Regions from separate parts of the Homo sapiens genome. Here region 1 is linked to region 2. Evidence: promoter capture Hi-C in 16 types of primary human blood cells and fetal thymus (Javierre and others, 2016). All regions are on one chromosome and are shown on one strand. Each heading gives the region's core, a stretch centred on a gene start or on the middle of the fragment in contact. The rest is flanking DNA. Distances are from core to core; before and after follow the strand shown. Region 1 has its middle 110 kb from the start of CARMIL1. Region 2 holds the start of KIAA0319.

Evidence for each region. Contacts are between HindIII fragments. The CHiCAGO score rates a contact against its expected background, and 5 or more counts as called.
Region 1: a contact is called between a fragment that was not itself captured here and the fragment with the promoter of KIAA0319 in region 2, in 1 of 17 cell types (neutrophils). The highest score is 6.1, in neutrophils.

The regions. Positions count from the first base shown.
Region 1 is chr6:25,162,717-25,170,251 of GRCh38, reverse strand. No RefSeq gene overlaps it. Among named protein-coding and RNA genes, the nearest start is that of CARMIL1, 110 kb to the left of the region's middle. The HindIII fragment of the contact is 6,105 bases long and covers 1-4,379 here.
Region 2 is chr6:24,643,201-24,650,306 of GRCh38, reverse strand. KIAA0319 reads left to right here and starts at 4,116. Exons shown (of 21, transcript NM_014809.4): 1 at 4,116-4,571. TDP2 (tyrosyl-DNA phosphodiesterase 2) reads left to right here. Exons shown (of 7, transcript NM_016614.3): 7 at 1-328. RefSeq lists a silencer at 4,062-4,271. The HindIII fragment of the contact is 1,579 bases long and covers 3,341-4,919 here.

The sequences.
Region 1 (7,535 bases), core at 78-2,577, 520 kb before region 2:
GCCAGATGGGCTAAGGTTTCTATGCTGGGTTTTTCGAGATCTCCCCAGACCCTTCCAGCAAATTCCTCTTTTTACTCGAGGAGGTTTTGGAAACAAATGAGTAAGACAGACGTAGTCTCTGTAATAAGAGAATGGTGAGTCAAGGACACCTGAAAAACAGTAATAGCTAAGGTCGGACAGAATAGAAGGGAAAAAAAAAAAAGCAAAAAGAGCTCTGGAGACACAGGAGAAAATGAAGCTCAGATGTCTGGGAAGGCGAGAGTATCTAAAACCTTTACCAGAGAAGACTGGAGGGCCTCTTTGGGAGATGAAACTCTCTGTCACCTGGAGATTCACCAAAGACTCTGAGGCTGAGGGGAACAGTATACTGTGGAACTGATTTCTGAGACCACAGTTGGAAATTGTGTGTTCAGAGTCCTTACAAGTCTGAAAAGGCCTTTATTTTTACAGCCACACTTGAGTCACCATTTGGCTGTAGAATTCTCCCTCAGAATTCTGTAAACATCACTCCATTGGGTCTCCTGGCATTTTATTTCCAAATAAGAGAGCAATGTCCACTGGTTTCTTTGCACTTGGCAGACACCTGATTTTGGTGAAGGTGTTGGAGTGTCTTTTGTTGGGAGAAGTGAGTGTGAGGAGGGTGGGGGAGTGTTCTGGAAGTTTGTAGGATTTCTTGTAGGATTCTTTTCTGTCATTTACAAATTTCAACAGATTATCTGTAATATGGCTTTTTTCAGTATTCCTGCCCAACAATCCTTAGATTCTTTAAATATGAAATCTAGATTTTCTTCTATTGAGAAAAATGTTAACTTATTCTTGATCATTCCTTCATTTGTTTTCTGGAATTTCTGTTATGTAGAAGTTATCATATATTATTCTTCCTGTTTCTTAATTTTCTTTCATAACTTCTCTGTTTTTTAGGAGATTCCTTAAATTGGTTATCTGTTTCACAGTTGCCAGGTTTGGTTTTTGGCATATTATTCTGCTACTTAAGATCTCCACTATTTTTTTGTTTTGTTTTGGCGCCCATGATTTTACTGGAAAAATCCTTTTGTTCTCTCCTTTTTTGTTACCCCTTTTCATTTATGTGACACCTTCCTGAAAATTACCCCTCCCTTTGAGATTTAAATAAAATGTCTGGCTCTTCATCCCATTCTTGATGGGAAGTTTAATGCCTCCCCTAACTCCTGTTTTTTTTTTTTCTTTTCAATTCCAAGAGGTTTTGTACTTGGTCCCCACCTAGGTCCAATTTTCTTTGTCCTAGATTTCCTAATTGTACCTCTTCTTAGAGTCTGTTCTTACAGCCTGTCCTGGTGCAGACATGGAACACATCGTTTTCCTTTGTGTTCCCCAAATGGCATTCTTTCATTCCATTCACCTTGTGTGGACACACTTTGCTGAAGGTCTGAGGTGGCGAAAAGGGTGGCGTCACAGCTCTCCAGAGAGTATTCATGTGTTTTAAAAAGTCCTCCATCTGCCCCATTACCAGGGATTTGTCACCTACCACCTTACTAACAAGGCTCCTCTTCTGTCCTGTTGAAAGGAAGAATCACTAATGGATGCTAGCAGGGCTTAGTACCTAGGTGATGGGATGGTCTGTGCAGTACCTGCCATGGCACGTGTTTACCTGTGTAACAAACCTGCACATCCTGAACATGTACCCCTGAACTTAAAAGTTGGAAATCAAAAAAGAGAAAGGGCCTCTGTTCTCTGCCTTTCTTATCTTCCAGACAGAACTCCCTTTACCTGAATTCTAAAGTCCTCTTTGTTTCTATCTGATATTTAAGTCAAAAAGATGTTGCCACACCTGTTCTCTCCTTCAGAGAATTCAGGTTCCTGCTATTATAATCCCTTTTTATTCCTTGATGCACTAAATTTCTTTTTCTGAAAATTCTTCCTTGTTTTCTTTACTAAATCTATCTTGCAGAAAGATATCTTTGCCCTGATTGTTCAGCTTATTTCTGGCAGCTAATTTTTCCCATATGTCTAATGTTTCTTGTATAAGAGAAAATAGATGGCTTTTATTTCTAATCAGAGGTCTATTTTTCTCAATGTTGGCAAATCCTGTGGGTTCCCTAAGCAATTGTGCATCTCAGGGTTCAGTTCCTTCTGGTGGTTTCCTGCTTTCTTTTCCTATGTGAGGCTTACGTAGAATTTATTTAACATGCAATAAAATATGCACATAACATGAAATATGTTTACAATATGGATAAATCCCACAATCATAATGGTAGGAGAAAGAGGCCAGATACAAAACAGCATATGATTCCATTTATACAAAATTTAAGAGTAGGCATAACCAGTCTGTGGTGATACAGATTAGAGGAGTGGCTATCATTTGAGTGGATGTTGACTGGGAAGGAGTTAGCTGGAGTCCTAGAAATTTTCTATATCTTGATGTGGGAGGTAGTTACATGAATGTATACCTGCGTAAAAAAGTCATAGAGCTATACATTCAAGATTAGTGCACATTACTATATGTAAGTCATACCTCACTTTAAAAAATGTCATGTGATGTCATCTAGAACTAGGGAAGGAATAATTTGAGAGACCTTCTTGATTTGGAGAGGAAAAGGATATTTTGAGGGCAGGTGTTACTTAGAAGAATTGCTCTACATAGCAGTCTTTTCTTCCTTTATCCTACTATCAGACATTTCTCCAACTAGAATAAGATGTGGTTACAACTGTCCTCTTGCTGTTTCGTGAGAATTGCTTAGTTGTTTCCTACACAGAATTTTAAACGTTGTGGTAAATACAAGTTCAAAGTCACATTGCCAGTGCTTCGGAAACTTATAATCTAGTTGGAGAGACAAGACTAACATAAAAGAGAATTTAGTGTTGCTTTTTTTTTTTTTTAAGTGCAAATTTTGAGGCACAGAATTCTCCAGGGATTCAGGAGAAAGAGCACTCAGTGGGAAAAGGAGGAATTGATTTTAATGAAGCGGGGAGGACTTAAGGTGAGTTTTTGAAAATACCTGGGCAGGCACAATGCCAGCTAGTTCTTCACTGTATTGTGTTTGTTTAAAGAAACATAGAACACCTGCTTGCTAGAGCTGAAACAGTGACTGGGCAAGACAGGATATTTATCAAACTGGGGAAAATAAACCAAGTGGCATACAGATGTCTGAAGAGATTTAGACTTGGATTCTGAATTCCCACTAGTCTGAGCCCTCAGGGTTGAGAGGACAGTACAGTCAGGGGAGGGTAGGGATCGGGAAGGAACAGAGGCCAGGCCTAAACTGTATGCCCCGGTGGGAAATACTATACAGAGGTCTTTTCTTTTACAACAAAGCAATTCTTATTATATTACAAAGAAAACCAAAATCTGTGTTTATGACAGGATGACTTACAGAAGGATACAAAAAATTAGGGAGTGATATATTAAGTTCTCCTTAATATTTTCTCCTCTGACACTACATTCATGTATCTGCAAAAACATACATGTGCTTTCAGACACACATGTATGAACACATACACACACACACACACACACACACACACACACACACACACACCCTTCATACTCCTGTGCTGGTGGGGAATTCGGAGTTTATCTAAAGTACACACTTCATACTCCTGTGCTGGTGGGGAATTCAGAGTTTATCTGAAGTGCTCTTTGCTAGGCTCTGTGGGTGGAGCTGGGAGGGTAATGGTAAGGTTGGCAGATATATGAAGACAACTGAAATTCATATCAGCAGGCTGAGTGTTCATGTCACCAGAAGTCTGACTCGCCTGCTGTGCTCTTGCCTGCTGTGCTCTCGTAATTACTTTCGGAAAGGTTTTCTGGCTACAATAAAATCTGATTAAATTTGTTACCAAGCAAATTGAATTGTTCAGGCTGCAACCTTTCTAGAAGTTTTAAACGTTATTTAAAAGAAGATTTCAACCTCACTCCATTTCAGCTTTCTCTGGGGAGCTGCTCTTGTGCTGTTTGGCCCCTGCCTACTCGGAATGGAACAAAGGTATGGTGTGTATTGTTTTTCTACTGAATTTAGGATATTTATTTTTGATGGTTTGTCTTCACGTCTTCTGTAACTAGATATAAGAATTGAGAGTTCTTGCTGGGGGATGGGGAGGGATTTAGGATGTTAAAACAGTTTTCAAATATATAGTGTTTGCCATCTTCAGAACACCTGATTTACAATTCACTCAGTTACTTGGGTATAGAACTTGCTTGTATCGCACCCTGCTTACCCTTGATATTCTATCTGCTTGAGCCCTCTCTGCAACCCTGTCCACTTTACCCAACCCCCTTATCAGCAACACTGCCTTTTCTGTATACTTCCCTTCTTTTTTCTGTGGCTGCTAGCAGATCTTGTTTTTGGAGCTTTCCTTCTGTCAAGACATTACTTACTGCTTTGCTCAGGTCTCAGAAAGCTTTAGGATCCAGAGAGATACTAAAGGCTGAATGGGCATGGAAGACCCAGGGTTTGGACTTGAGGGGTGCTCTGGACTAAATGGTACACTGAATTCATGGATCAAAAGTGCAGTTAGTCTTAAAGCTCCAATCAATACAATGTTGACTACTTCATGGGGTAAGTAAGATTTTTGTGGGCTGGTTAGAACTTACTTGCCATTCGCAACTTGTTTTTATGGGAAAATATCAAGTGCAGTATAAAATAAACATTTAGACCACTACCTAGTCATAAAGGGGGGGGTGCTTTCTGTAGTATATTTAATTAAACACATATTATTATAACATTTTGCTAAGTTCTAGTTCTCAAGTAAATATAAAGCTGTTCTAAAGATATTTTAGGAGTGGTGACATGTTTAAATCTCAGGTTTATAAAAAGGGTTGTAAGAATGACTGTTGTGAGCCATTAGTTTCAATGTTGATTTATTCTCTCAACAAATATTTGTTGAAATCCTCATGTGCGCTAGGCTGTGGGGGTGCAACGGAAACCTAAAACAAACTTGGTTCCTTCCCTTGCATAGCTTACAGTTTTCTAGGGGACACAGATATTAATCAACCAACCTCATAATTAAAAATGAAATTATTGGCTGAGCGCGGTGGCTCACGCCTGTAATCCCAGCACTCTGGGAGGCCGAGGCGGGTGGATCATGAGGTCAGGAGATCGAGAGCATCCTGGCTAACACGGTGAAACCCCGTCTCTACTAAAAATACCAAAAAAAAAAACCAAAAAATTAGCCAGGCGTGGTGGCGGGCGCCTGTAGTCCCAGCTACTCAGGAGGCTGAGGCAGGAGAACGGTGTGAACCCGGGAAGCGGAGGTTGCAGTGAGCTGAGACCACGCCACTGCCCTCCAGCCTGGGTGACAGAGCAAGATTCCATCTCAAAAAAAAAAAAAATCAGTTTGAAAGTGATGAGAGAGAAAGTGATGTGAGGCTGTGTCACGGTGGGATTTGACCTTATATGGGGAGTCAGGGAATTCCCAGTGGGGCTACTGATTGAACTGAGACCTAAAGTATAAGGCATTGGGGGAACCTGCTCCCAGTATTTCAACATAGTTTCTTTCTATTTTCCATAAGTGTCGGCTGGCTGAGAAATAAAGGGAGACAGTACAAAGAGAAGAATTTTACAGCTGGGCCGCCAGGGGTGACATCACGTATCAGTAGGACCATGATGCCCGCCTGAGTCTCAGACCAGCAAGTTTTTATTAAGGGTTTCAAAAGGGGAGGGGGTGTAAGAACAGAGAGTAGGTACACAGATCACATGCTTCAAAGAGCAAAAAGCAGAACCACTGATAAGGGTCCAACAAAGATCACATGCTTCTGAGGGGACAGGGCAAAGGGTAAAAGCAGAACCACTGATAAGGGTCCAATAAAGATCACAGGGCAAAGGACAAAAGCAGAACCACTGATAAGCATCTATGTTCAGCAGTGCGCTGCATGTATTGTCTTTTTTTATTATTATTAAATTTTTTATTTTATTTTATTATTATTATTATTAAAATTTTATTATTATTATTATTATTACCCTAGAACTTTAAGTTCTAGGGTACATGTGCACAACATGCAGATATGCTACACATGTATACATGTGCCATGTTGGTGTGCTGCACCCATTAACTCGTCATTTACATTAGGTATATCTCCTAATGCTTTCCCTCCCCCCTTCCCCCACCCCACAACAGGCCCCGGTGTGTGATGTTCCCCTTCCTGTGTCCAAGTGTTCTCATTGTTCAATTCCCACCTATGAGTGAGAACATGCGGTGTTTGGTTTTTTTGTCCTTGCAATAGTTTGCTGAGAATGATGGTTTCCAGCTTCATCCATGTCCCTACACAGGACATGAACTCATCACTTTTATGGCTGCATAGTATTCCATGGTGTATATGTGCCACATTTTCTTAATCCAGTCTATCATTGATGGACATTTGTGTTGGTTCCATGTCTTTGCTATTGTGAATAGTGCCGCTATAAACATACTTGTGCATGTGTCTTTATAGAAGCATGATTTATAATCCTTTGGGTATATACCCAGTAATGGGATGGCTGGGTCAAATGGTATTTCTAGTTCTAGATCCTTGAGGAATCGCCACACTGTCTTCCACAATGGTTGAGCTAGTTTACGGTCCCACCAACGTGTAAAAGTGTTCCTATTTCTCCACATCCTCTCCAGCACCTGTTGTTTCCTGTCATTTTAATGATCACCATTCTAACAGGTGTGAGATGGTATCTCATTGTGGTTTTGATTTGCATTTCTCTGATGGCCAGTGATGATGAGCATTTTTTCATATGTCTGTTGGCTGCATAAATGTCTTCTTTTGAGAAGTGTCTGTTCATATCCTTTGCCCACTTTTTGATGGGGTTGTTTGTTTTTTTCTTGTAAATTTGAGTTCTTTGTAGATTCTGGATATTAGCCCTTGGTCAGATGAGTAGATTGCAAAAATTTTCTCCCATTCTGTAGGTTGCCTGTTCGCTCTGATGGTAGTTTCTTTTGCTGTGCAGAAGCTCTTTAGTTTAATTAGATCCCATTTGTCAATTTTGACTTTTGTTGCCATTGCTTTTGGTGTTTTAGACATGAAGTCCTTGCCCATGCCTATGTCCTGAATGGTATTGCCTAGGTTTTCTTCTAGGGTTTTTATGGTTTTAGGTCTAACATTGAAGTCTTTAATCCATCTTGAATTAATTTTTGTATAAGGTGTAAGGAAGGGATCCAATTTCAGCTTTCGACATATGGCTAGCCAGTTTTCCCAGCACCATTTACTAAATAGGGAATCCTTTCCCCATTTCTTCTTTTTGTCAGGTTTGTCAAAGATCAGATGGTTGTAGATGTGTGGTATTATTTCTGAGGGCTCTGTTCTGTTCCATTGGTCTATATCTCTGTTTTGGTACCAGTACCATGCTGTTTTGGTTACTGTAGCCTTGTAGTATAGTTTGAAGTCAGGTAGCATGATGCCTCTAGCTTTGTTCTTTTGGTTTAGGATTGTCTTGGCAATGCAGGCTCTTTTTTGGTTCCATATGAACTTTAAAGTAGTTTTTTCCAATTCTGTGAAGAAAGTCATTGGTAGCTTGATGGGGATGGCATTGAATCTATAAATTACCTTGGGCATAATGCCCATTTTCATGATATTG
Region 2 (7,106 bases), core at 2,867-5,366:
GACTTGATTTTTGTCAGCTAATTACATAATTGGTAAGCTATAATTGAAACCTTATGGCTTAAAATTCCTTAACTCCTTTTTGATTCATGTTTGTAGTCATGTTGTCAACAGAGGCAAAGTTAAGCTTGATGATGGTTAAAATCGGTTTGATAGCACCATGGGACATTTTTCTAACAAAAATAAATGCATGAAGAGACATAGCCTTTTAGTTTTGCTAATTGTGAAATGGAAATGCTTTACAGGAAGTAAATGCAAATTACTTTTAAGTGTGCTTTAAAGAAAAATATTTTCCCCACAAGAGAAATTTAAATAAAGAATTTTATTTGTTTATGGTTTGTTTTAGTATGTTTTTGTGTCCATGATGAGATTAAATTTTTTATCTGCTTCCTGCTTCTGGCTCTACTGCTGCTTCTTCCTCTTTGTGTAGAAGAAAACAGATTTCCATTTGCTTCTCACTCCACCAAGAATTACCAAGAATATATCTGCTTCCTTTGTCTGAAAAAAAGCCAGCGAGAATAATTAGAAGTAATAGAATCTTATTTATATCAGGAGTGCCAAAATTTAAACACCTAAAAAAAGATATTTATATATAATATTCCCTTTGTAGTGACAACGAAAAAGTTTAAATGTTAATCATAATTTTAATCATTAAAAATAAAAAATGAGGGCCGGGTGCAGTGGCTCACACCTGTAATCCCAGCACTTTGGGAGGCTGAGGCGGGTGGATCACGAGGTCAGGAGATCGAGACCATCCTGGCTAACACGGTGAAACCCTGTCTCTACTAAAAATACAAAAAATTAGCCGGACGTGATGGCGAGTGCTTGTAGTCCCAGCTACTCAGGAGGCTGAGGCAGGAGAATGGCACGAACCCAGGAAGCAGAACTTGCAGTGAGCCAAGATCGTGCCACTGCACTCCAGCCTGGGCAACAGAGTGAGACTCCATCTCAAAAATAAAATAAAAAATGAGAATAGATGTTAATAGTAGAGTAGCATACATCATAGAGGTAATACAATAGTACATTTCTGTGGGAAAAGGGTTATTCTGGCATAAATTGCTTTCATTTAGAAGAGCTAAGTTAGAACTTCAGATCACATTGCAAAACATAGATGGGTGAAAGTCTAAATTCTTAAAAAAAAAATACAGTGTAGTATACTAGATTAAATAAAGGATTATCGGCTGGGTGCAGTGGCTCATGCCTGTAATCCCAGCACTTTGGGAGGCCGAGGCAGGTGGATCACCTGAGGTCAGAAGTTCAAGACTCGTCTAGCCAACATGGTGAAACCCCATCTCTACTAAAAATACAAAAATTAGCCAGGCGTGGTGACACGTGCCTGTAATCCAAGCTACTCAGGAGGCTGAGGCAGGAGAATCACTTGACCCTGGGAGGCGGAGGTTGCAGTAAGCCGAGATCGTGCCACTGCACTCCAGCCTGGGCGACAGAGCAAGACTGTCTCAAAAAAAACCACTTTTAGTCTGCTTTCATGAGCAATAGTTATCAATGAATTAACCTACTAATTTGCTATATCTTGAGTTTTTTACTTGGAATTTTTCAAAGTTTTTCCAGTGTAGTAGCTTTGCTTGCCTTACCTTCCTGCTTAGTGAAATTCCAACATAGAATCTTCTGGGTTTTTTTTTTTTTTTTTTTCAGTCTCAACCTCCTGGGCACAAGTGATCCTCTAGCCTCAGACTCTTGGGTAGCTGGGATTACAGGTGTGCACCACACACCCAGCTACTTTTTATTTGTTTTTGTTTTTTGTACAGAGAGGATCTTGCTATGTTGCCCAGGCTGGCCTCGAACTCCGGGGCTCACTCAATCCTCCTGCCTCGCCCACAAAGTGCTGGGATTATAGGCATGAGCCACTGTACGTGGCCTAAAGTCTTGTATTTCAATGAGGCAGCACTGTCATTACGCTAAGCACCATTTTTACCACTGATGTGGAATGTACTTTAACCTTCCTAAACCTCAGTTTTACCCACCCTCAAAATAAGTTATCTTTTATTGTACAAATGTCCCAACCAAAAGCATAAGCAAGAGCAGACAAAGTTAATTATACTAAGGATACATCATTTTATCCTTACTACCTCTTGCAGTGTCTGGCATATAGTAGGAGCTCAATGGATGTCCACTGAATGCTGAAAAGAAGTGAAAGGTAGTAGCCTCACATCTGTGTCCTAAAGAAGGAGACTAACATTTTCATACAATACCAAAATAGATATATTCATTAAAAATGAAAATAGATATTCATTACAGTGTCTCTGAGTTAAAAAGATGGTATAGTTAAACATTCTGGGCTAAGCCTGTGTGTGTGTGTATGTGCTAAAAATATGTTTCTTTAAAGGCTAATCAGCCAAGGATCGTTGGGGACAAAATCAGATTCATTGGCTTGATGCATTGAAAGAGTACCTGTGGAATGCCATGTGAGCACAGAAAGGAGGAAGTGTCTTTTGTAAAGATTTGGCTTCCTATTAAAGGATTCCAGGGAGAGTCTTGGAATCAGAGCTGGGATCCAGTTGGTTGCTGTTTCTGAGGCAGATTGAGAGAAAGGGGGATTAATGAGGGATTGGGTGCTGTCAGGAGGTGAAGGGAGTTTAGCAATTGGGTATCCCCAGTTATGGATGGGAATAGTAAAGCAAAGGTAGAAAGTAGTAGTCATTCAAAAATGGAACACAAGGAGTTGTGTTGTTTTGTACCTGCTGCGTGACTTCAGAGGAAACAACATTGCCTGTTAATTTTGCTTCTGACTTTGTCCTCTCAGCCTGATCATTGATCATTGGCAGTACTAACTTTTCCAAGTCCAAGCTGATTTTCACTCTTTGAGTCCTGGACAGGTTTTTACTCTTTAGTTTTTATTTATTTATTTATTTATTTATTTATTTATTTATTTATTTATTTATTTATTTTGAGACGGAGTCTTGCTCTGTCGCCCAGGCTGGAGTGCAGTGGCACGATCTCGGCTCACTGCAACCTCCGCCTCCTGGATTCAAGCGATTCTCCTGCCTCAGCCTCTCAAGTAGCTGGAACTACAGGCGCGGGCCACCACTCCCGGTTAATTTTTTGTATTTTTAGTAGAGACGGGGGTTTCACCGTGTTAGCCAGAATGGTCTCGATCTCCTGACCTCGTGATCCGCCCGCCTCGGCCTGCCAAAGTGCTAGGATTACAGGCGTGAGCCACCGCACCCAGCTGGTTTTTACTCTTTAAATGTGCATTATCTTATTTGATTCCCAGAATCATCCTATATGAATGCTATTATCTTCATTTTATAATTGAGGAAACAGGTTTATCTAGATTAGGTAACTTGTCTGAGGCTCTTCGGTAAATACGAGTAGCCAAGAAGCTTATTCATCAACAGTGTGTGACTCAGCCCTAAGCACTGCACTTATACCTCCTAGTAATGAGATGTGCGAGGAATGCCCTGGCTACCTTTTCTGCTCATGATATTATCCCTAGATGCTTTCGCATCTTTATTAAAACAGTAAAAATGCAAGAGTCTTCCACCCAAGTTTTCTGTGGTTTAGATTATCACGTTCCTCAAGATGCAAATGTCAAACTATACTGGGCATCCAGTTAACCTGCAAGGCCTGGAGGTGATGGGAGCCCCTCCTAGCACAGGTTCCCAGTCTCAGTCAGAAAGCACCTGCTCAAAATAGAAAGATAATTACAGAGTAGGGGCCAAAGAGACTCCCACTGGAAGAATGGAACTTGTGTAGCTGGGGTGACACAAGCTGGGGACAAGCTGGGGGACACATTCGCGAAGGGTGTTTGACCCAGGCAGTGCACCCACGGCTCCCTTGAGCCACCCTGGCCCGGGTGTTTATTTGGAAGGAGTGTTCATCCCCCAGACTGTTTAGGGCCACGGTGACAGGGAAGGGCTTGGTGAAGGAAAGCAGGTAGGGTATGAAGGCCGCTCAGGTTCACGAAAGACTTTTGCTTGGTCCCCTGCGGGGTGGGAGTGTGTCGCCCCGGTGCGGGTACTTAGAGCGCAACCGGGGAGCTGAGCAGGGGAGCTGAGCAGGGGAGCTGGGCAGGGGCGGCTGCCGCGCCCCACATCCCTGAGGGCGTGTGTGCGCGTGCGCGCGCGTCGCCGTGGTAACCGCGGCGGCGGAAAGGCGCTGAATCACTGGCGCGCGCTTTCCCCGAGCCTGCAGAAGCTGCCGCGGGCGGTGGGCGGGGATCCCCCGGGGGTGCAACCTTGCTCCACCTGTGCTGCCCTCGGCGGGCCTGGCTGGCCCCGCGCAGAGCGGCGGCGGCGCTCGCTGTCACTGCCGGAGGTGAGAGCGCAGCAGTAGCTTCAGCCTGTCTTGGGCTTGGTCCAGATTCGCTCCTCTGGGGCTACGTCCCGGGGAAGAGGAAGCGAGGATTTTGCTGGGGTGGGGCTGTACCTCTTAACAGCAGGTGCGCGCGCGAGGGTGTGAACGTGTGTGTGTGTGTGTGTGTGTGTGTGTGTGTGTGTGTGTGTGTGTGTAAGACCTGCGATGACGACGAGGAGGAACAAGTGGGACGGCGAGTGATGCTCAGGGCCAGCAGCAACGCATGGGGCGAGCTTCAGTGTCGCCAGCAGTGACCACAGGTACGGTATCTACTTCCCAGAGCGCCTGGCCGAGAAATAGGAAAGAGGGCAGCCAGTAGGCAGGCCAATACCCAACAAAAGTAGAATCGAGACGCCCTGAGTTCAGAAGGTGAGTTTCTTAAGATTCTTCTGGGCATTCAGGAAAGGGCATTTTTTGATTGCTGCACTGATTGTTGACTAGTAGGGTGGAGTCGGGGAAATTTGAGTGTCTTTTCCCAACCTCACGAATTGCATTTTTTTAGAAGTAAGGAATCGTTTTCTTTAAACTTCATTCAGAACTATTTATGTGATCTTTCCTATTATTTGCTAAATGCATTTTGTCTCTGTTCCTTACCATAACCTGAAGCTTAAAATCTTTCTCTTCTTCCCTTTGAATTCCCTCCAAGGAATGTCACAAATTAATCGGGAGGATAAACCTGAAATTTTGAGAGTTATCATCTTAAGGTCATTTGTTAATTAAATACAAGGAGGAAAAATATGATATACATACTCATGTGCACTTTTATTGCTGGTTTGTTCATCAAAACATTTTTGTTTGTCGGTGAAATGTTAGTATTTTTTCCACTGCTTGAATTGAAAAGTTGAATGATGTTTTTGATAGTAACAGAAAAAATAAATTGTAGACAATGTTCCCCCCCACACACAAGAATTTTGGAAGTAAATGTTGGTATTTATTTCTTTATTCCTGAAATACATGCTCACTTTCCAAATGCTTCAATTTATTATAAGAAGACCACAATTGTAGAGACTACTAAAGTTATGCCAAATCTAAACTTTTATTTTGTGCTTTTTTTAGTATTATTTTTAATTCAGATGAGGAAAACTGGAGGTGTCAGTTCAGTTATAGACGTAGGAGTCACAGAGAAAGGTGAATTCCTCTGTAATTTGAAAAAGGGAAATGTAAACATATTACCTAAGTACTCTGATTTATTTGTATTAACCATTTGTAATGCATTTGCATTTGTAATGCAAAATGCCGAGGCAAGAACTTAATTTTTGTTTCGAAATAATGAAAATAATTCAGCCAAAATCTTTATGAATTAAAAATAGCCAAAAGAGAGCTTTGGTAATGTATGAATGTAAAAGAATAGAGTTGCTGTTAAATTTTCTTGACTTTTTTTTTTTCCCTAGCCAATAGATAGGAAGCATTCTCTTTAAATAAATACAGTAAGTCCTCACTTAACATTCTTGATACGTTCTTGGAAACTGTGAACCTTTAAGCACAACGAGGTATAAGGAAACCAATTTTACCACAGGCTAATTGATATAAACAAGAGTTAAGTTCCTACAGCATATTTCTGGTCATAAAAAAATCACCAAACTTCTAAATAAAGACCACAACACTTCTAATATTAAACATAGAAATAAATGGGATCTATACATACAGTTAAGAAGGATTAGTAAAAACAAGATCATTATTTACCCAATTATTACAGTTCAAGGTCATGGGTAGCCAGAGTCTCCCTGGTTCAGAGTGGGAACCCCCCCCTCTCCCCTGTCCAGGAAGCTATCCCATCACAGGGTGCACTTTCACAGACACACCCACTCACTCAGACGGGGACCATGTAGACATATGCACAGCTTTGGGATGTGAAGGAAACCGAAGCCCAGAGAAAACCCACGCAGACATGAGGAGAATGAGCAGACTCCACATAGACAGTGGCCCTGGCCAGGAATTTTTTTGTCACCAACGTTGAATGAAACTATGTTATTGAGGCACTGCTGTATGTAGAGCCAGGTATGCCCGTTTCTGGAACGGAGTGCTGCAGATTGCCAGGTCAGAGGGTGTGGGTTTGGGCGTGGCTCTGCCACTTAGTGGCTGTCTCACATTTGGCAAATTCTCTAAACCCTCTAAGGCTCAGTTTCCTCACCTGTAAAATAGAGATAACAATGGGACCTACTTAACGAAATTCCTGTAAGAATTAAATACAATAATATGTTTAAGAGATCTTTGCTCATTGCCTGGCATGTTTTAATAGTAACGCTTCAATAAGTGTTGTTATTTTTGAGATGTGTTCTTTTTCAGGAAATATTTTTCATACCTTAAAAATAATTTGGTACTAAAAAATAGATTTATTTTGACATGTCCAAAGCTTGTTCTGATTTATGATATCAAATCATCATAAAATGCATAAATTTTTCCTTGCAGCACCTTTATAACAGCAACAATAATAAATATAATAATCAAAATCATAAAATCATGTCAATTTAATATTCTGGTAGCTTAATACCCCCAAGGAAGGAGCTTTGCTTTAGTAGGCCTAGAATAATTGGTAGGTTATTTTTCTATTTGTTTTTAAAATTTTTTTTATAGATTTAGAGTGTACAAGTGCAGTTTTGTTATGTGGATATATTGTGTAGTGTCAAAGTCTGGGCTTTTAGTGTACCCATTACCCGAATAGTGTAGGTTATTTTTCTATTTGTCTTTAAAAATCTGTACCTTTAGACACTATTCATGTGAATTCAATAATAAGAAAATATTTTCTCATTTATTTGTATTAAACAATAAAAATGGTTGAGCCAGAGTAACATCTG